7 separate regions of the Homo sapiens genome follow, and all the other regions are linked to region 6. The links are contacts of gene promoters, found by promoter capture Hi-C in blood cells and fetal thymus (Javierre and others, 2016). All regions are on one chromosome and are shown on one strand. Each heading gives the region's core, a stretch centred on a gene start or on the middle of the fragment in contact. The rest is flanking DNA. Distances are from core to core; before and after follow the strand shown. Region 1 overlaps GFM1 (G elongation factor mitochondrial 1). Region 2 overlaps TTC14 (tetratricopeptide repeat domain 14). Region 3 overlaps GFM1 (G elongation factor mitochondrial 1). Region 4 has its middle 2.5 kb from the start of FXR1. Region 5 holds the start of SIAH2 (siah E3 ubiquitin protein ligase 2). Region 6 holds the start of NSUN3 (NOP2/Sun RNA methyltransferase 3). Region 7 overlaps HLTF (helicase like transcription factor).

Region 1 (2,763 bases), core at 106-2,605, about 65 Mb after region 6:
ATATTGGAATCTCAGCTCACATTGATTCTGGGAAAACTACATTAACAGAACGAGTCCTTTACTACACTGGCAGAATTGCAAAGATGCATGAGGTATATATTCACGGTTGATTCCGGATTAATTAGAACCAGATTTTAATTGTTTTGTTGCTATTATTTAATAAAGCTTATAAACCTGAAAGATTAAAACAATGGTAACAGCGGACTTTTGACAGTTAGGCTTATCTGAAAGTTGCTTAAGTTAAGTATCTGTGTTCTGGTTTTATTTTTATTTTTTATAGAAGAGGTCTCACTTTGTTGCTCAGGCTGGTCTCAAACTCTTGGGCTCAAATTATCATCCTGCCTCAGTCTCCCACAGTGCTGGGATTATAGGCATGAGCCACTGCACCTGGCAACTGTTTCCATTTCAGTTAAGATTTCTTTCCTTCTTGGAATGCAGGGACAGAGAAAGTCTGAATTGCTGTGCTTGTGTTTAGGTGAAAGGTAAAGATGGAGTTGGTGCTGTCATGGATTCCATGGAACTAGAGAGACAAAGAGGAATCACTATTCAGTCAGCAGCCACTTACACCATGTGGAAAGATGTCAATATTAACATTATAGATACTCCTGGTGAGTTGGATTCTTGGTTTTATTGCAGCTTCTTTGGCAAAAGCACATTTGGTTCTTTCTCTTACTGTGACCCAATTAGTTTTTGATTGTCAAATACTCAAAAGTGTAACACTGAATTCCTATTAAAGAAGACTAACTTAGGACCTAGAGCACTTCATCCTTATGTAGTTTTCTTGAAAATTTGTGCAAGTAAATTGTGAGTAGGCAGATTCTTGCCTTTTACATATTCTAGCTGATTCTAAAGGTGCCTGTGCCCTAGTATTTTCTTGAAGTGATCTTGCCAGGCCCTGCACCTAAGGGTTGGTGAATAGTATTGGTGAGCTCAGGAATCTACATTCTTATTAGAAGACTTATGTGATGAGCAGAGATACAAAAACTTCTAATAGTGCATATATTAAAAATTCAGATTGCTCTTTAAGACCCTCTCATACTTCATCTTATTCAGGGCATGTGGACTTCACAATAGAAGTGGAAAGGGCCCTGAGAGTGTTGGATGGTGCAGTCCTTGTTCTCTGTGCTGTTGGAGGGGTACAGTGCCAGACCATGACTGTCAATCGTCAGATGAAGCGCTACAACGTTCCGTTTCTAACTTTTATTAACAAATTGGACCGAATGGGCTCCAACCCAGCCAGGGCCCTGCAGCAAATGAGGTAATGAGCCTTAGAATAAACAAAGAGGATGTGATGATCTAGACAGCAAACCTTATATCCAAAAGGGTGATTAATTCACTGTCATTAAACTTTATTCTTAAATTTAGTTTTTTAAATATATTTATGTGAGTTAGTAAGTGGAACACTGATTTTAGTAAATTGGCTTGTGGTATGATCTCATCAACTACCTTATCTCTAAAATGGGGACAATATTACTTAAATTCTAGGGAGGTTGAAGATGAATTCAGAAAACAGTCTGACCGTTTATACTGTTTTGCTATTATGAGAGAAGTTATAATCTAGATTCTAAAAATACCTTGTGTTTTATTTAGACAAAAGATCATCTTTGGTTTTAATTTTTCCTTGAAGCATTTTAATTAATGCCCTTAAGTAGTTTGCCATAGAGATGAGATTTTCTTGTTTTCAGACGGAAACATATTTTCTAGGACAACAGTAACACTTCCTTTCTGTACCAGATAGAACCAGTAGTATTTATAGCATTTTAAATTTTACACAATATTATATATTTCACAAAGCCTTTAAAAAGAGTCAGAATTTCACTTTTCACCTTTTGTAGATGTGCACGTGTAGCTGTAGAGCTCATACTTACGTTTCACATGGCATAGTTGATGGATATGTAGGTGTAAAGTTTATGGTAGTGGACAGGCTGAGAATGGTGTATCTGATGACAAAAAATCTGATGGAAGTGATATATTTGATATGAAAGTGAACATTTTCTTAGTTGGGTGTTTATAACTTTTTTTTGGTAAATTGTTTTTAGTTTTTATCCTTATTTTACTTATGCTTGGCAATAGATGGTCTTTTTTCCCCAAATCTTCTTCTGAATTCCAAGGAAACACTGTTTTAGCATTTATTTGATTACTTTGGTTCATTCTTTTCTCCACTCCCATTTATTTGTTTTCCATTTTGTAACTTCTATAAAGCAGATAAAAATCTGGAACTTCTAGATCTGACCTTCATGCCTTGTCTTTTCTATGGTACTTATTCTTTCTGTCTCCTTCTCATTTTGGATTGGGCTTATGAGAGAAATCTTGGGGTTGATCTTCCAGCTCACTAATTTGATATTCATTTGTGTCTCTTCAGTTACTTAGCTTGCCTGAAAACTTTTTTTTTCAGCAATTGTGTACTTAATTTTCATAAACTTTCTCTTTCCTTGCAACATTTTTATCAGTAGAGGTAATTGTTTCTCAAATCTTTACATTTTATTTTCTTTCCTCTAGTAACTCTCTTCTTGGAGGTAAGTGCTATTAAGTTCACATTTCTCTTTCAAGCTTTTGGTTTCCTTCAAATATTTGGTGATTCTTAGATCTTTAACCATAGTTATAGATGGGAGTCTAGAGTCTAGACTAAACAGTGGTAGCTAGAGCATATTCTTTTCCAGTGAGGATTCTTGCCAGTGAATGCAGTTTCTATTCAGTTTTGAGCCTGGGCCGGGCGCGGTGGCTCACACCTGTAATCCCAGCACTTTGGGAGGCCGAGGCGGG
Region 2 (2,909 bases), core at 129-2,628, about 87 Mb after region 6:
CATAATATTGCCACACCATCTTATGCAAAAAATGGAATTAGTATTTAAACCTCAAATGATATTATTTCTTTACTAGAAATGGAATGTCAAATTAGTCATTTTACAATTTTTGTGTTTGTATTTTTTTAAGGAGAAGTGTTGAGCTAAATAGCAATTCTTTGGAGTCCTATGAAAATGTCATGCAGAGTTCCTTGGGATTTGTTAATCCAGGAGTAGTTGAATTCCTTCTAGAAAAACTAGGAATAGATGAATCTAATCCACCATCTTTAATGAGAGGCCTACAAAGGTATAGTACATCAGTATTACTCTTAGATGGTGAGGGGAGTGGCAGTAAGCTCAGAAGCTGCGTTTAGCTGAAGGACGTATTTTACCATCCTAAGCCACCTAGTAGCAGGCATATGCCAAAGGTTGAATGAACCAGGTGATCCCATCTTCTGGACTGGACTGTCTTATCAGTGATTAATATGTGTACCATGTAACCAAGTAGAGAAGGATGCAGAAACTTTTTATAAGAATTTTGTGTGTATGCTAAAGAAAAATACTGGGTTTTTTTGTTTTTTGTTTTTGTTTTTTGAGTCGGAGTCTCACTGTGTCACCCAGGCTGGAGTGCAGTGGCGCTATCTCAGCTCACTGCAAGCTCTGCCCCTGGGTTCACGCCATTCTCCTGCCTCAGCCTCCCAAGTAGCTGGGACTACAGGTGCCCGCCACCACGCCTGGCTAATTTTTTTTTCTTTGATTTTTAGTAGAGTTGGGGTTTCACCGTGTTAGCCAGGATGGTCTCAATCTCCTGACCTCGTGATCCACCCGCCTCGACCTCCCAAAGTGTTGGGATTACAGGCGTGAGCCACCGCACCTGGCCAAGAAAAATACTGTTTAACAATAATAATCATTTCGAAAGTTCAAAGATTTTGGTATGTAAATAGAATGCAGATTTCTTGCTTGGGATTCATACTTTCACTGTCGAGTGCCTGTCAAGCAGAGTTAAGTATAGTTACTTAAAAAATATTTGTGGTTTAACTTTTTAATTTTTATTTTCTTTAATAGCAAAAATTTCTCTGAAGATGATTTTGCTTCTGCATTGAGAAAAAAACAATCCGCATCTTGGGCTTTAAAATGGTATGAAGACTGTCTTTCAACAATTGCATTATATCTAGTCTAAAAGCTTAGGGCAAGGCAAGCATGCTTATATCATCAATAAGACAAATTTGAGATGCATTAAAGTGATGCCTTTTTGACATGAGCTTTTCTTTTATAGATGTAAGTAGTCTTACATTTTACACTTAACAGATAAGTTTTACTCAGCATTTCAGTTTTCTCAAAAGGAATTAGTATATTGATATCTAGGTTTCACCAATATTTGTTGTGAAAATGTCCAAAGGCAGAAGAACGTTCCTTAGGTATATTGTGAGTACTCTGAAAACTAAATATTTTGCCAAGTTTGATGACATTTGCTTTTAAAACTTATTCACACTAACATTTTATTTAGATATTGTTTGAAGTGTTTGTGATGCTTTACAAATGTCTTTTTTAGTGTGAAGATCGGAGTTGACTATTTTAAAGTTGGACGCCATGTGGATGCTATGAATGAATACAATAAAGCTTTGGAAATAGACAAACAAAACGTGGAAGCTTTGGTAGCTCGTGGAGCATTGTAAGTGAATCATACATGGATTTTAAGGAATGTTTACCAGGTAAATGCGAACAAGATTTATGAAGAGCTTGTGAGATACAGCCCTCTATCTTTGTTTCATGTCTCTAGATATGCGACAAAAGGAAGTTTGAACAAAGCAATAGAAGATTTTGAGCTTGCATTAGAAAACTGTCCAACTCACAGAAATGCAAGAAAATACCTCTGCCAGACACTTGTAGAGAGAGGAGGACAGTAAGTATCAGATTTTGTTTAATAGTGGAGGTCTAATGTTCAACCAACCACTAAAAAATTTTGAACTTAAGGAAATAGTTTCTTAAGCACTTAATTTATAACACTCTTGGTTTCAATAAATAAATGGGAAAGTACAAGAGATTAGGCAAATACTCTTTTCCTAGATAATATACTCAAAAGTTTTTGGTTTAATGACTATACTATTTGTGTAGTCATTCCTGTTTGTGATCACAAATTCCAAGTTGATTAAATTTTGCAATATTCGTTTATAATTTATAGGAACTTCTATTTAATGATTGGAGCAGCTTTTTACATACTTACTAGGTGGATAACTAGTAACTACTTATATGTGGTTGTCTTATAGCCTTGTATTGATGTCTTTGAGCTGAGTGAATAGCAATACCCTGTAGTTACCTAAGCCAGAGATACTGTTCATCTTTGACTTGTCCTTTGTTTCCCATATCCAGTCTACTGACACAAAAGTGATCCCATTGTATTTGTTTTATAGTAATTTCTTTTTCCTTCTAAGAACCCAAAGCACTTTGCAACATCTTTTGACTGCTTTATGTCCAAACTTTCTCATTCTGGTGTTTCACAACCCAGACTTGTGAAATTCATCTAATGATTATGCTATTTACAGGCTCATTGTGATATATGTGTATGTTGGTATTTCCAAAGATTTCCAAAATTTTCTGTAGATAATTTTTCATAAACTACTAGGGAAAAAAGCCTGCTGGTATAATTCTGTGCTAAAATTCAAGATCATACTAAATTTGTGGACACCCATTTATCATGGGTTTTTGTGTATTACTGCAAAAATGTGCCAATATTGGACATATACCTTTAGTTACTAGTAAGATTTCTGTTTATGTGGTCTATGAAATAAATTACAGTAAAAAGCATATTATTTTGGTATTTTATTTTGGAAAATAATTTACTTGGCTTTTCCCTAATAAGCTCTCTCATATAAGCCTTTGACCTGTATGCATATTTGGATAGTTTTGTTGTTTTTACAAAAAAGCTAAAT
Region 3 (2,919 bases), core at 343-2,842, about 65 Mb after region 6:
TGTAACTAACTCTGGTTCTTCATGCGTCACTCTGGTTTGTATCCAGATGTGGTCTACTGCTTCCTCTACTATGTGTTACAAAATAATTATTTTCGATCTCTAAATCTTTTTATTTGTAAAACGTTCTGGACTCCTAGAATCAAGGCTCAGGGGATTTGCAACAAGAATATCTGTCCATCCCCAGGTCATGGGTAACTGGGTCAAGTAAATCCTGGTCCAAGCCTTAGGGAGACAACCTGCGGTTGTACCAACTTTTCAGGCCATTTCTTCTCAAGTCATTACTTGAAGATCATTATAATATAGATAAAAGGAAGGGAAGATGGGGCCTATACCTTCCCAGGAAAGGTCTTGTATGTATTGATATATAAGTAAAAACCAAAGATATGTGATTAGAAATTTTGGTGAGATCTTATCTTTGAAGTTGAGATAGAAAATCCTGACAACAGATTTATATATTATTCCAGTGAATATGTAATAATATTCAACAATGGTGACGTTTTAGTGGTTAGATTAATTGGAGGTAAATATAAATTAATCAATGTAACTTAGAATTCATTTATATAAAATCTGTAAAAGCAGTTTGTATTAAGTATCACATACCTAATCCTTATAAGATACTAAAATGATTTAAGATTTGTTTATCTATTATATTTAAGTGAATGCTACTAAGATATATAAGATGCTTAGGAGGTTTTCTTTCGGTTTATTTTTTTAAATTTAAATAATATTTTCCCCACTCTTTTTAGAGGCTGGAAAGAGAGTATGGCTGTCCTTGTATCACAGGAAAGCCAAAAGTTGCCTTTCGAGAGACCATTACTGCCCCTGTCCCGTAAGTATGCAACGTAATTAAACATTATGAGGCTGAAATTGAAGCTTTTTATTTTGGATATACATACCACTATTACTGTTTTAAAGACATTTTTATGTAGTGATACTTTGTATTATGGACTCTATAAAGTTCTATACTGTAATCAAGACATTTATATAAAGTGACACTTTGGGATTATTTGGCCTCATAAGCTAGATGCCAGTGAAATTGGCATACACATCAATAGACATGTTTACACTTCCAGTGTTAGGGTTTTTGTTTATTCCAGTTGTACTTCCTTTGGCAGACGGCTATTATGTTTTACTTTAGTGCCGTATTGTGGATGCCAGAGAACTTGCATTTGCCAGGGAATAATCTCCTGCAAGTGAAGAAAATTAATGCCATGATAAAATTCAGAAAACATTTAGGAAAACGTAGTTGGGTTTATGTTTTGTTAGAGATAAAACAGTCTTCACAAAGAATAGTACTTTTGTTAAATTGCTGCAATTATAATATACTTAAATCTGGTGCCTATCTGGATTTACATGAATTCTGATTTAGAGTCAAAATTAATAAAGCATACTGTGGCTATACAAGGAGTCTCAGTTTTCAGAATGGCATCAAATAAAGGTAAATTATACTTTACCTGAGATGCTATATTATGAAGTAGAATGGTGTAGTCTAATTCAATAAAGTCATCATTTCTTTGCTATGACAAAAAATAAAAACGTGTTGTTTAAAACTTAATATCTTTGGCAAAAATTACATTTAATTTTGAAAATCATCTTTGATTAGATGAATATAATATTTCCATTTAGGTAAAAATAAAAATTGAATGTCATAATTTCAATTTAATGTGACAAAATCTATTCTCTTACACTAAATAAAGTGTTCTTTCAAGATGCATTTTAAAATCATGATCTTATATTTGTTCCCCAAGAAATGTTTACCTGTTTTTAGTTTCCAAGTTGTGGTGGCTACTTAAGAGAATTAGCAAGTGTAGCTTGTTATTTAAGAATGCTCTGTGTTTCCATTGTACAGAAAAGCATAATTTATGGGATAAGCTATAGCAATGGGTGTTTACATTGAAAGAATCCAATTTTATAACAGAAATTCTCTTTTTGAAAACTGAAAATAAGGCCGAGCACAGTGGCTCACACCTATAATCCGAGCACTTTGCGGGGCTGAGGTAGGCAACTTGCCTGAGCCTAGGAGTTCAAGACCAGTCTGGGCAACACAGTGAAACCATGTCTCTATGAGAATAAACAAAAAATTAGCCAGGCATGCCTGTGTGTGCCTGTACTCCCAGCCACCTGGGAGGCTGAGGTGGGAGGACCGCCTGAGCCTGGGAGATTGAGGCTGCAGCGAGCCATGATCACACTAATGCACTCCAGCCTGGGCAACAGAGTGAAACCCTGTCTCAAAAACAGGCAAACAAACAAAAAAACCAGAACACCTGAGAATAGTAAAATGTAGTGAGTGTAGTTGTGTGATTGTGTAATTAAAGCTTTTTTCTGTACTGTACAGTAGAGGGAAAAAACAGATAGTTTCAGTATGGCATGACTATAGTAATTTGAACACAAAACTTAGATTGCTAAGGGAAATAATCTGTATTAAGCTGAGCACAAAAGCTAAATGTTGGATTATAACTCAAGACTTCACTCTTCTGAAAGCACAGCTTTGCTTGTGACTGCCATAAAAAGTGGCCCTGAGGATCTCTATAGAGCAGATTAAAGGTGAGGAGAGTCATTACAATTGTCCCTTAGTATCCATGGAGGATTGGTTCCAAGATTCCCCTCAGATACCAAAATGCACGGATGCCCAAGTCTCTGACATAAAACAGTGTAGTATTTGCGTATAACCTATGCATACCTTCTCATATACTTTAAATCATCTCTAGATTACTTATAATACCAAATACAATCTAAATGTTATATAAATAGTTGTTATATTACTTAGGGAATCATGACGAGAAAAAAATCTGTGCATGTTCAGTACAGATGCTACCATCCATTTTTTTCCCCCAAATATTTTTGATTCTCGGTTGTTTGTATCCATAGATGCAGAACCCATGGAGAGGCCTGACTGTATATTGTACACCTGGGATTCTG
Region 4 (3,091 bases), core at 185-2,684, about 87 Mb after region 6:
TTTTCATGCAATATACATATATGTATCCTGTACAAAATTGGTTGCATATATAAGCTGCTTTTTACAGTTATAGACATCTTCTCATATCAGTAGATAGTCTTCTATAATTTCATTGCTAGTGGCTGTAGAAGATTCCATGGTATAGTATTTAAAAATGAAAATATCTTTTTTTTTTTGAGACAGTGTATTGCTCTGTTGCCCTGGCTGGAATGCAGTGGTGCAAACACAGCTCACTGCAGCCTCGACCTCCAGGCTCAAGCAATCCTCCTGCCTCAGCCTCCTGAGTAGCCTGGACTACAGGTGCACACCACCACGCCCTGCTAACTTTTGTCGCTTTTGTAGAGACGAGCTCTCATTATGTTGCCCAGCCTGGCTTTAAACTCCTGGCCTCAAGTGATCCCCCTGCCTTGACCTTCCAAAGTGCTGGAATTAAAGGTATGAGCCACTGTGCCCAGCCAAAAAGAACTTTTTTTTTTTTGATCAGGTAACATGCTCATTGTGAAAAATTCAGATGAGGCAAAAAATATAGACATTATATAGTTTACGTAAATCATTAGCCCATCTTCTGGAAATATCCTCTAATAATATATGGAAATATTAACTTTCAGACTTTATATATGTATATACACACTGCATATATATTTTAATATGATTATGTATGGTGTTTTGTGACATTCTTTAAAGTGAACATCTTTTTATGATGATGAAAATAGATCTACATCAAAATTTTAAAGTTTGTGTAATGTCCCATTTTGAATATTATATGGAGGCTGCAAACAGTCATTGATGTGGCACTGGAAATGGAAAGTAAGAGGGCTCAAATCGTAGTTCTGACACTTACAGCTTGTCTGATCTTACATGTGTTACTGGTTGCTATAGGGCTCAGTTGCTTAATTGAAATCACGAAGTCTACCTAGAAGAAGTAGTAAAGTGTTGGCTGGGTTCCAAATTCAAATGTTTTCGCTATGCAAGGCCTGAAGAGGGACAATACTTATTCTTTAGAGTTCAGGCAGTATGAGATGCTTTGGCCTGTGCCCAAGTGGAACTTTCGCATCCATACTCAAAATCACTCACATTGAGAACAAACAAAAAATACACTGAAAGCCAAAACAGAGAGAGAGAGAGGAGAGAAGAGAGAAGAGAAAAGGAAGAGAAGGGAGGGGAGGGGAGGACAGGAAAGGAGAGGGGAACCCATAAAGAAAAGCACACTGGGACCCTCATACACTGTTGGTGGGAATGCAAATAATGCAGCCACTTTGGAAAAGTCTGGCAATTCCTCAAAAGGTTTAAACATGGAGTTATCACGAGTCAGCAATTCCATTTCTAGCTATATACCCAAGAGAAACAAAAACATACATCTGTCTATACCAAAACATATACAGCAATTTTCATAGCAGCATTATTCCTAACAGCCAAAAAGTAGAAACAAAGCAAACTTCTATCAATTGATGAATTAATAAATAAAATGATGTGGTATATCCATACAACAGTATATTTGACAAAAAGGAATGAGTAGTAATACATTCTACAACATGGATGAAACTATAATACATTATACTAAATGAAAGAAGCCAATCATAGGCCAGGTGCAGTGGCTTACATTTGTAATCCTAGCACTCTGGGAGGCTGAGGCGGAGGCAGTGGATAACTTGAGCTTAGGAGTTCGAGACCAGCCTGGGCAACATGGTGAAACCCCATCTCTACAAAAAATACAAAGATTAGGCTAGGCGGGCGTGGTGGGTGGTGTCTGTACTCCCAGCTACTTGTGGGGCAGGGGGTTGAGGCGGGAGAATCACTTTAGTCCAGGAGGTGGAGGTTGTGGTGAGTGGAGATCAAGCCACTGCACTCCAGCCTGGGCAACAGAGTGAGACTCTGTCTCAAAAAAAAAAAAAAAGGAAAAAGAAAAAAGAAAGCCAGTCATAAAACAACACATATTCCGCGATTTCATTTATATTAAATATCTAGACTAGGCCAATCTATATAGGTAGAAAACAGGATAGTGATTTCCTAGGGCCTGGGGAGCTGGGGTTAAATCTAGAGTGAACGCTAACAGGTATGGGGTTATTTTTGCAGTGATGAAAATGTTCTAAAATTGACTGTGGTGATGGTTGCACAAATCTGTGAATATACTAAAAACTACTGAATTGTACATTATAAATGGGAGAATTATATCTAAAGAAAACTTTTTAAGAAAGCAAATGGGACATTATAATTCTGAAGGATCACAATGAGATACAATATAGAGTGTTAGCATAAGGTGCCCTTAATAAATGGTGGCTATTACTCATTGATGGGCATTTAGTTGTTTACATTTTTCTCATGATGATCAACACTTTAAAAAGAACATCCCAGCCCAGTGTGGGATGGCCAAGAGTTCAAGGTTACAGTGAGCTATGATTGTGCCACTGCACTTCAGCCTTGGCGATAGAGATCCTGTCTTAAAAAAAAAAAAAAAAATAGGCCGGGAGTGAATACATAGGCTGGGCACGGTGGCTCATGCCTGCAATCCCGAGGCAGGCAGATCATGAGGTCAGGAGTTCCAGACCAGCCTGGCCAACATGGTGAAACCCCATCTCTACTAAAAACACAAAAAGATTATCTGGGTGTGGTGGTGCGCGCCTGTAATCCCAACTACTCCGGAGGCTGAGGCAGGAGAATCACTTGAACCAGCAGGCGGAGGTTGCAGTGAGCTGAGATCTCATCACTGCACTCCAGCCTGGGCGATAGAGCGAGATTGTCTAAAAAAATAATAATAAATAAAATAAAATAAAATAAAATAAATATTGTAGTCCTAGCTACTCGGGAGGCTGAGGTGGCAGCATCACCTGAGCCTGGGAAGTCCAGGCTGCCACGTAATCACGCCACTGCACTCCATCTTGGGTAACAGAGTGAGACCCTGTCTCTAAATAAATAAATAAATAGAATATCCTGTACATAACAACAGTGAGCACTTTCACAGCCCTCATTTTTTCCCAGAATCTTCAGAGATGCAGACGTGCTCATAAAATGTTGTGTACATTTTATTTTTTTAGAATCTGAAAAACTGGGTCAGTGGGCGTTTCATGGGAAGTATAGAATGTTAGCAAAGTAT
Region 5 (3,188 bases), core at 683-3,182, about 57 Mb after region 6:
ACGCGGGCATTGGGCCGGGTGAGCTACGATGTTCTAACGATCAGCAAATGCCAATTAATCTGTTAATTGTCTATTAACAATTATTACTCGGTAAATGTCAACCCAGACCTACACCCAAAGTGGGCTTGAGGGAGGGTGGACGAAGTGTAAACATTTTTTCTTTTTTTTTTTTAAATGAGAGATGCCGCCCGCCTCTCCGGGCCTGCGAGTGGGCTGGCGGATACCGGAGTCCCTGAGGTCACCGGCGGAGGTACGTGGGCTGTCCCTGGGCTTACCTTACAGGGAAACAGGACTGCCGAGGCCACCTTCTCCATAGCCAGGTTCCTGATGCTGGGCGTCAGGGCGCCCCTGCACGTCGGGCAGCAGCTCAACTTCTGGCGGCATTGGTTACACACCAGGTGCCCGGCCTGGCACTGCAGAATAGGAGGCAGGACATAGTCAAAGCAGACCGGACACTCGAAGAGCGAGGTCAGCTCGTGGTGCTGCGGGGACACCGGGCCGGCCCCGCCGCCGCCGCCGGGGCCCGAGATCACCGCCGCCGCGGCGGGCACCGCGGACGAGCCGGGGCCCGCAGCCGAGATGGTGGCGGCGGCCGGGGGCGCAGCCGGGGACGGAGTGTGCTGGGGCTGCGGCGGCGGCTGCTTGCTGCAGGGTTTATTAGCGCTGGGGCCGGTGGAGGACGGGCGGCTCATCGCGCTCCGAACCAACCATGGAACTGCGGGCGCCTGCCTGCCGCGGGGCCGCCCGGGTCAAGGCGGTGCGCGCCCCGCGGGCAGCGAGCTCCGAGGCAACGCCACGGCGCCCAGCCCAGGTCCGGGCGGCGGAGACGCTCGGCGCCCGGCAGGCGGAGGGCTGGACCGCGCTGATGCACTCCGCAGCCCCCGGCGTTCCGAGCACGCCTCCGCGTCGGACCCCGCGCGGTGCCCTCCTCCCGGCGGCGTCCCGGGCCCCGAACCCCAGCGGTGCGCAGAGCCCTGGCCCACCCGCTTCTGGAACAGCCGCTGACGCAAGCCCCGGGGGCGCGCGCGGACGTGACGCCTGGACACGTGTGCGGCCGCCCAGGCGCGCGGGGACTGGCAGAGCCACCCTGCGCCGGGGCGCTGGCTCCGCCCGGCTCCAGCTGGCAGCGCAGGGGGCCGCCTAGCGCCGGCGCTTCCTGCTCGGGCTGCGGGCCGGGCCTGCGCCAGTGAGCATGCCTGGCTCGCTGCAGCCCCGCGGGGTTGTCTTTTCTGGGTTGAGGAGGGGGGCTACTCTCGGGGAAGCGTCGCCGAAGTCCTCTGGCCACACCCCGGGGTGCCTGGCTGACGCGTCCCTCAGCTCAAACGAGAAAGGCAACTTCAGGCGGGGCGGGAGCGTGGACGGTGGGTGGGACCGGACGCGGGCGGGCAGGGGCGGGGCGCGGGCGCCCCTGCACTAGTCGGAAAAAACCGAGAGGTTTCTCTTCTCAGGGCTGAGTCACCAGCACGCAGGAGAAGAGGGCGAAGCGGCCACCCGCGTTCTGTGTTCGGAGTCAGGACGAGAAGCATTGGGTGGGAGCAGGGCGAGGGGCTCGAGTTGGGTCTGCAGCGGGCACAGGACCTAGTTTTGTACAGTTAACGGTGGGGTTGAGTAAAGAGGGGGGCGGTGGGGAGGATGTAAGCTCCCTTTATTCCTTTCCCAGCGGACCAGGAGGAAGCTTCGTTGAATTGAGCGCCCCTGGCTCGTATAGCAGGCCGAGGAGGGAGCTCATGGGCAGCGTTGGCTAAGAGTTCGAGATCATCTAGAAATGTCAGAAACGTAGGTTGGGTCGTGAGGTCTCTGAAGACAGTGGGTGAAACTCCAGTGTAAGGCGCTGCGTCCGCTTGGTAGAGAGCCGGCCGAAGTCCGAGTCTTTGTTGCGAGGCGTAGGGCCACCCTGCGCGCCCAGCAGAAGCGCTAGAGGGCACGGTTGCCCGGGGTGAACCGCATGTCCAAATGTAACTGTGTGCTCCGAGTTAAAATTGTTTTTCTGCAGACTTTGCTTGAGCCAACGATTCCGGAATTGGGGAAAGGGTTACCTTAGGTAGAAATCGGAAATTTATAGGAGACACAGAGGTAAGGACCAACTGTTAGGACTGAGTGAAAAATGGTTCCCTCCAACTGTAAAAGTGGAAAAAAAAATACCTATCTTATAGGTGGGGCAGTGAGGAGTAAATGAGTTTAATATATTTCAAGCTTTTAAAACAACCTCGCCCATCATAAGCACTGTTTAAACATTAGCTCTTATCTTTTAAAAATATTAGTGGATGTTTAAAATGAATGAATACAATTTGTCCAAGAAATATGGCGTAAGAGCCCAGAAGAAATAAAGTTTAATCTTACAAAGGGCTTCTGTAGAAAGAATACATGCATGGAATTGATGGAATTTGGTATAAATCTTGAAAAAACTTAATAGGTGTATTCAATCGTTCAGTAAATGTTTCCTGAGCATTTATCATGTGTCAGCTACTGTTGGAGCTCTGAGAATGGTTCTCATGCAGTTTACATTCTAGTAAGAGAGCAAGGCCCAATAACCAAGCACTCGTGGGAGAAGAAGGATTTCAGATACCACGGGGTGGGCAGGCATTATAGCAGGAGCTAAAAAGCACAGAGTGAAAGCATGTATTCTGGGATTGCATTGGGACTTGGAGGGGATATAACGGGAGTGTAGGGGTGTGGCGTTAGCACAAGGGGAGCCTCAACTGGCTTAATAAGACATTTACCTCAATGATAGGGGTAAACCACTGTAGGGTTTTGTTTGTTTTTTTAAGAACACACAACAACACTAGGTTTTGTAGGTTTTTGGAAGCTCTTTAGTAACATGGCTGAACCTGAGTTTTTGGATAGGTAGGGAGCATAAAATAATAACTAATGTTAATTGAGTGCCCACTGTATGTTGGGCATGGATAGTTTTAAGTATTTATCATAACTCTCTGTGATGAATACTACTGTTATCTCCATTTTACAGTTGAGGAAACCGAGACATAGGTTACTTTGCTCAAGATCACACAGCTGAGAATGTGGGAACACGCTAGGAGCCCTTCTTAACTACTAGTCTGTATGCCTCTAAATTATGCCTGATTCCTACTTACAGTCTTGTTAAACAGTTAAGATTAGCACACTCAACAGAGTCAGAAAACAGTTGTTCAGCCTATAATAAAGCACTAAATTTTGTGGGCAAACTTTACATA
Region 6 (2,792 bases), core at 271-2,770:
CTGGCTACGCCAGGAAGCCAGGCCAAGAATGCCGCGAAATTCCCTTCTTCAAATTTTTTTACGTGCCTACATTGCAAATACAATACCACTGTATTAATTAATTGCAACATTCTGGAATGAACATAGAAAAATAAATTATATAAAATATATTTATAAAGTATAAATTTATAAAATATTTATAAAATATAAATTTATAAAATTATAAAAAATACAGAGGCTGAAAGGTTAGACCGACTTTTCCACAAACATTAAACAGACGGCATCCAAGAGATGGCATCATTTCATTCCTGATTATCATAGTCTTTTGTACCAAATCTAAATTCTAATAAGATGCATTTTTTAGGTGACTTGGAAACTTGTTTAAATAAATAAATATATTAAGCTTCAAATCAGATTAGAAGGAAAGACATGTTTTTACATGAATATAAGACTTGTACCTATAGCATGTACGTATATTGATATGAGCATCAAGGAACAACTCAAAATGATGATTATTAACTATCAGGGACCATATCAAACCGGTTTTTTCTAATTGCTGATTGCTGCTACAAATGATAGTTACTGAAGCATGACACCAAAAGAGCAAATAAACTTCTATTCGTGTCAAAATAGGTGTAATAAACATCTTCCTTGGAGAACCATTAAACATTGCTCCCTTGTAAAGGTGAATTGGGGAGGCTAGAGTGGAGGGTCCTTTTGGTCTTCACGCATTTGGTATCAACGCGACAAAAATCACAATGATCACAATAGTGAAAATAATAGCAGCTAACATTTGGGCATTTACTGTTTCCTAATCACTGTTGTAACCGCTTTACATGCCTACTTCAGTTTAACACTCTCCATTAAAAGGAGAGATTATCCCCATGGGCCAGGTCTGGGGAAAAGCATGACTTAATTTCTTTTTCATTATATTCCACCCTTTTATCCTTGGGTACTGAATGTCTAGGTTAACAGGGGTCACTAGATTTGGTAGATTAAGTCAGTAACTAGCTTCGCTTTGAGAATATTTTAAATCAGTCATCATACAACATAACCCCAAAACTCATTCCTTTATTGAGCCCCATGCATATACACACTGTTCAGCACAATATGCGACTTTTTATTTATTTTTGAGACAAAGCCTCGCTCTGTCGCCCACGCTGCAGTGCAGTGGCGCGATCACGGGTCACTGCAACCTCAAACTTCTGCCCAAGCGATCCTCCCACCTCAGCATCCGCAGAAGCAGGGGCCGCACAGGCGCGCAGATGTGTGACTTTCTAAGGTCCGGCCGCCCAAAGCTACGCCGACCAATCCAAGTAGCGAAAGTCGCTTTGGCCCTGGCCCGTTACCTCCGCGTCCTGGGAAGTATCAGCCTTTACCAGCTACCGGAAGTAACTGCGCACGAAATCTCCCGCGGGAGCTAAGCCTCTTCGACAAGAATTCTATAGCGCGAGCAAATCAGTATCTCGCGAGAAATTGAAGAGGAAACGTGAGAATGAAAGTGGATGCCCGCGAATCCCGGAAGTCAGACTGTTTTTTTCAGTTCCCTGGAGGCTTTTTGATACTGATTCGCGTACACCTGTTGTTTGAAAGCTCTCAGCGGGACAATGCTGACCCAGGTGAGACCTGGGGCCCGGCTGGGTACCTCTATCTGAATGAGACGCTTCTGGACGCGGCCGAGGTGGCGAGGGAGGGTGCTGGGATGGGGGAACATCACCTTTGTTCGTCCCCTCGCGAGATCAGCGTTTCTTTGGCTTTACTGTCAAGCCCTGAAATAATGCTGAGTGCTGTAATGCTGAGTCCCTTCCGTCCAGCTCGCAGACTTCTAGTACCCACTCCCTCCAGCTCTTGGAGGGCTGAGATTTGTTTTCTGTGTCACAGCGGTATCCCGGGAGCTTAGAACAGTGTCTGTTACATAGTAGGCATTGAATACACGTTTCTTGGATGAATAAATGAAACAATTGCAAGGAAGTTCACGATGAAATTGGAGTGACTTTTCTCCCTAAATTAACTTTTCACTTTAAAATAACGTTGCAAAGATAGTACAGAGTTCTCAAATACCTTTCACCAATTTTTCTTGATGTCAGCATCCCCGGTGACTTTTTAGTTTTGTTTAGATACAAGTTCTTGCTCTGTCACCCAATCTGGAATGCAGCTGCTCCATCATAGCTCACTGTAACCTTGAACTCCTGGGTTCAAGCGATCCTCCAGCCTCAGCCTCCCTAGTAGCTAGGACTACAGGAGCAGGCCACTACGCCTGGCTAATTTTTTTTTTTTTTTTACTTTTTGTAGAGACACGTCCTTGATATGTTTTCCAGTCTGGTCTTGAACTGGGAAATGATCCTCTCGCCTCGTCCCTGCAAAGCATGAGCCAGCTGGAGTACAGTGGCGCGATCTCGGCTCACTGCAACCTCCACCTCCTGAGTTCAAGCGATTCTCCCACCTCAGCCCCCTGAGTAGGTGGGGTTACAGGCGCCCACCACTACTCTCGGCTAATTTTTGTATTTTTAGTAGAGACGGGTTTCCCGTGTTGGCCAACCTGGTCTTGAACTCCAGACCTCATGTGATCCTCCCGCCTCTGCCTCCCACAGTGCTGGGATTACAGGTGTGAGCCACCTGCCTAGCCCCTACAGTGACTTTTTAAAATTAATTTTGTTCCTTTTGACAGTTTCTTCAGCCCCAGTAGATTCTGTTTTAACCTTTGCTTCACATTTGGAAAATAATTATTTGGAAAAACCTTGCTTTTTCATAATTAGATAATGTACAGTTTTGGTACATGTAAGGTATTGCTTCCATTTCAAGAACTAGTAATT
Region 7 (3,040 bases), core at 1-2,500, about 55 Mb after region 6:
AGTATATTTACCCCAATGAATGACTCTTTAACAGAATACTTTCTACCTTGTAGATAAAATATAAATTATGTTACATTTTTAAAGGGCTTAAAGACTTACAATCCAGTTGCTTAACACAGAAAGCGGACAGATGATCAGTGTTGTTCTTGGTCTCTCCTCAACATCAGTTTTCTTTGACCCCTCCACTGCACAAGCTCCTAAAAAAATGAACCACTGATAGAACCTTTAGCTGTTTTTCTGAAATATATATGTCAATAAGGAGATGGCAATAATGTGCCTCCATGAAAAGATAAATTAGGAACAATTAAAATGAAGCAGATGGACTTTTAACAGGGAATAAATTTTACCTCATCACTTAAAAAAACTAAAAATCCACATAGTGATTATGAGAAGAACCAAAGGACTATGACAGAGAGTAGGTCACAAGGAGGAAGTCTCTAATATTTTCTGATAGTCATAGTCATTCATTAAGACGAACATTTGTTTTATGCAGTTTTCTGAATTTGTGTTATATTTAATTTGGTAGCCAGCCAAGATGGCCCTCAATGATCTCTACTTCCTGATATTCACAATCTTGTGTAATCTCCTCCCATACTCCACCAGGACTGGTCTGTGTGACCAACAGAATATAGCAGAGAAGATAGTATGTCACTTCTGAGATAGATTACAAAAGAAGTTTCCGTATTGGGTGTGCAAGCTCACTCTCATACTCATTCTCTCTCTCCAATCTTTCACTCTGGTGGAGCCAGCTGCCACGATGTGAGGCCACTCAGGCAACTTATGGAAGGATGCACATAGTGAGGATCTGAAGACTACAGTTAGCCAGCAAGTAATGAGGTCTGCTGACAACTATGTGAGTGAACTTGGAAATGGATCCTCCCTAAGTCCAATGTTCAGATGACGGCGGCCCCTGAAGAAGAGTTTGACTGCAACCTCGTAAGAGACCATAAGCCATTAAACCATCCAGCTAAGCCACTCCGACTTCCAGCCCTGTCAAAGTGTGTGAGATAATAAATGTCTGATTTTAAATGGCTAAGTTTTAGGATAATTTGTTACACAGTAATAGGTAACTAATATATTACAACAAAAATTCTTAATACTTTTCTGTGGAGCATGTTTAAAAATAGTGATAATAAAGTGTTTTTACAAATTCTTGAAATAAATTCTAGAGATGGTATCCCTTACCAATGGAGTATCTTCCAGTAAACTTAAAATGCAAATTTCTGAGTTTTTAAAAAATTGTATTTTCACACTAATTTCAAAATTAAACTGGAAGGTGAGCAAAGTATCATACTGTATCTACGTATCATTCACAACTTGCTTTTTTCTCTCAGTGCTATCTACAGTAGTCCCTCCTTATCCACTGGGGGTATGTTCCAAGACCCTCAATAGATACTTAAAACCATAAATAGTACCAAACCCTATATATAATGTTTTTTCCCTATATATACCTACAATAAAGTTTAATTTATAAAGTAGGTGCAGTAAGAGATTCGTAACAACAAAGAATAAAACAGAACAATTATAACAATATACAGTTGACCCTTAAACAATATGTTTGAACTATGTGATGCACTTACATGCAAATTTTTGTTAACCAAACGTGGATTAAAAATACAGAATGGGCCGGGCGCGGTGGCTCACGCCTGTAATCCCAGCACTTTGGGAGGCCGAGGCGGGCGGATCACGAGGTCAGGAGCTCGAGACCATCCTGGCTAACACGGTGAAACCCCGTCTCTACTAAAAATACAAAAAATTAGCCGGGGGAGGTGGCGGGCGCCTGTAGTCCCAGCTACTCGGGAGGCTGAGGCAGGAGAATGGCGTGAACCCCAGGGGGCGGAGCCTGCAGTGAGCCGAGATTGCGCCACTGCACTCCAGCCTGGGCGACAGCGAGACTCCGTCTCAAAAAAAAAAAAAAAAAAAAAAAAAAAAATACAGAATGGGCCAGGCATGGTGGCTCATGCCTGTAATCCCAGCACTTTGGAAGACTGAGGCGGGTGGATCATGAGGTCAGGAGATCAAGACCATCTTGGCTAACATGGTGAAACCCGTCTCTATTAAAAATACAAAAAATTAGCCGGGCATGGTGGCAGGCGCCTGTAGTCTCAGCTACTTGGGAGGCTGAGACAGGAGAATTGCTTGAACCCATGAGGTGGAGGTTGCAGTGCGCCGTGATCGCACCACTGCACTCTAGCCTGGGCGACAGAGTGAGACTCCGTCTCAAAACAAACAAACAAACAAACAAAAAAACAGTATCTGCTGATTGCAAAACTCATGTATATGGAAGGCCAACTTTTCATATATACTCGTCCTGCAGGGCAGACTGTGGGACTTGAGTATGCGCACATTTTGGTATACACAGGGGGCCCTGGAACCAAATCCCTGACAAATACTGAGGGATGACTGTACTGTAATAAAACTTATGTGAATGTGGTCATTCTCTGTCTCTCAAAATACCTTATTGTATATAATATTTTAGAACTGAAACTGTAGAACGTGAAACTGCAGATAAAGAACAACTGTGTTTGGGATTTACACTTATTAGTATTTGTAGCTCTAGTGTATTCATTTTAACCAATTCATAGCATCATACTGCAAAGTAGATTACAATTTATTTACCATTCCCCTACTGGACAACATGTACATTATTTCTAATATTCCATTAAAATAATGCTGCAATGAAAACCATTTTTTCATGTCTCCTTATTTATATTTACAGAGTTACAGATGGTCTATATTCAGCTTCATTATATTTTTGTCCAGTTGCTCTCCTTGGTAATTGGCGCTCCCATCAACAATGCACGAATTCCTATTGCTGCACAACTTTGTCAATACTTGGCATTGTGAGATTTTTTAATGTCTGAAAATATGAAGGGTAAGAGCATCCCCCTATTCCTTTATTTTATGTTTTTGAGACATGGTCTCGCTCTGTCACCCAGGCTGGAATGCAGTGGCGCTATTATGGCTCACTGCAGCCTTGACCTCCCAGGCTCAAGTAGCTGGGACTACAGGCATGTGCTACCATGCCTGGCTAATTTTG

What was found. Contacts are between HindIII fragments. The CHiCAGO score rates a contact against its expected background, and 5 or more counts as called.
Region 1: a fragment that was not itself captured here is called in contact with the fragment with the promoter of NSUN3 in region 6 in 2 of 17 cell types (activated CD4 T cells and total CD4 T cells); the score reaches 12.8 in activated CD4 T cells.
Region 2: a contact is called between a fragment that was not itself captured here and the fragment with the promoter of NSUN3 in region 6, in 2 of 17 cell types (total B cells and non-activated CD4 T cells). The highest score is 9.7, in total B cells.
Region 3: a fragment that was not itself captured here is called in contact with the fragment with the promoter of NSUN3 in region 6 in 1 of 17 cell types (total CD4 T cells); the score reaches 5.0 in total CD4 T cells.
Region 4: a contact is called between a fragment that was not itself captured here and the fragment with the promoter of NSUN3 in region 6, in 1 of 17 cell types (total B cells). The highest score is 5.2, in total B cells.
Region 5: a fragment that was not itself captured here is called in contact with the fragment with the promoter of NSUN3 in region 6 in 1 of 17 cell types (activated CD4 T cells); the score reaches 6.6 in activated CD4 T cells.
Region 7: a contact is called between a fragment that was not itself captured here and the fragment with the promoter of NSUN3 in region 6, in 1 of 17 cell types (non-activated CD4 T cells). The highest score is 5.5, in non-activated CD4 T cells.

What each region holds. Positions count from the first base shown.
Region 1 is chr3:158,645,690-158,648,452 of GRCh38, forward strand. GFM1 (G elongation factor mitochondrial 1) reads left to right here. Exons shown (of 18, transcript NM_024996.7): 2 at 1-92; 3 at 476-608; 4 at 1,054-1,258. Among named protein-coding and RNA genes, the nearest start is that of GFM1, 2.5 kb to the left of the region's middle. The HindIII fragment of the contact is 2,385 bases long and covers 164-2,548 here.
Region 2 is chr3:180,604,722-180,607,630 of GRCh38, forward strand. It overlaps TTC14 (tetratricopeptide repeat domain 14), which reads left to right. Exons shown (of 12, transcript NM_133462.4): 6 at 131-286; 7 at 1,045-1,116; 8 at 1,532-1,651; 9 at 1,760-1,882. Among named protein-coding and RNA genes, the nearest start is that of TTC14, 4.0 kb to the left of the region's middle. RefSeq lists a silencer at 770-1,025. The HindIII fragment of the contact is 437 bases long and covers 1,161-1,597 here.
Region 3 is chr3:158,665,558-158,668,476 of GRCh38, forward strand. GFM1 (G elongation factor mitochondrial 1) reads left to right here. Exons shown (of 18, transcript NM_024996.7): 13 at 747-829. It overlaps LXN (latexin), which reads right to left. Exons shown (of 6, transcript NM_020169.4): 5 at 1,455-1,517; 6 at 857-1,187. The coding sequence ends at 1,089. Among named protein-coding and RNA genes, the nearest start is that of LXN, 5.6 kb to the right of the region's middle. The HindIII fragment of the contact is 1,442 bases long and covers 872-2,313 here.
Region 4 is chr3:180,908,619-180,911,709 of GRCh38, forward strand. No RefSeq gene overlaps it. Among named protein-coding and RNA genes, the nearest start is that of FXR1, 2.5 kb to the right of the region's middle. RefSeq lists an enhancer at 3,043-3,091. The HindIII fragment of the contact is 8,016 bases long and covers 1-3,091 here.
Region 5 is chr3:150,762,158-150,765,345 of GRCh38, forward strand. SIAH2 (siah E3 ubiquitin protein ligase 2) reads right to left here and starts at 1,012. Exons shown (of 2, transcript NM_005067.7): 1 at 276-1,012. The coding sequence starts at 692. SIAH2-AS1 (SIAH2 and CLRN1 antisense RNA 1) reads left to right here. Exons shown (of 3, transcript NR_187306.1): 2 at 182-250. RefSeq lists enhancers at 483-1,429, 1,948-2,007 and a silencer at 538-1,437. The HindIII fragment of the contact is 518 bases long and covers 1,674-2,191 here.
Region 6 is chr3:94,061,541-94,064,332 of GRCh38, forward strand. NSUN3 (NOP2/Sun RNA methyltransferase 3) reads left to right here and starts at 1,521. Exons shown (of 6, transcript NM_022072.5): 1 at 1,521-1,598. The coding sequence starts at 1,587. DHFR2 (dihydrofolate reductase 2) reads right to left here and starts at 1,376. Exons shown (of 2, transcript NM_176815.5): 1 at 1,206-1,376; 2 at 1-66. RefSeq lists an enhancer at 1,415-1,654. The HindIII fragment of the contact is 2,538 bases long and covers 381-2,792 here.
Region 7 is chr3:149,055,204-149,058,243 of GRCh38, forward strand. HLTF (helicase like transcription factor) reads right to left here. Exons shown (of 25, transcript NM_003071.4): 14 at 100-197. Among named protein-coding and RNA genes, the nearest start is that of HLTF-AS1, 30 kb to the right of the region's middle. The HindIII fragment of the contact is 5,930 bases long and covers 1-3,040 here.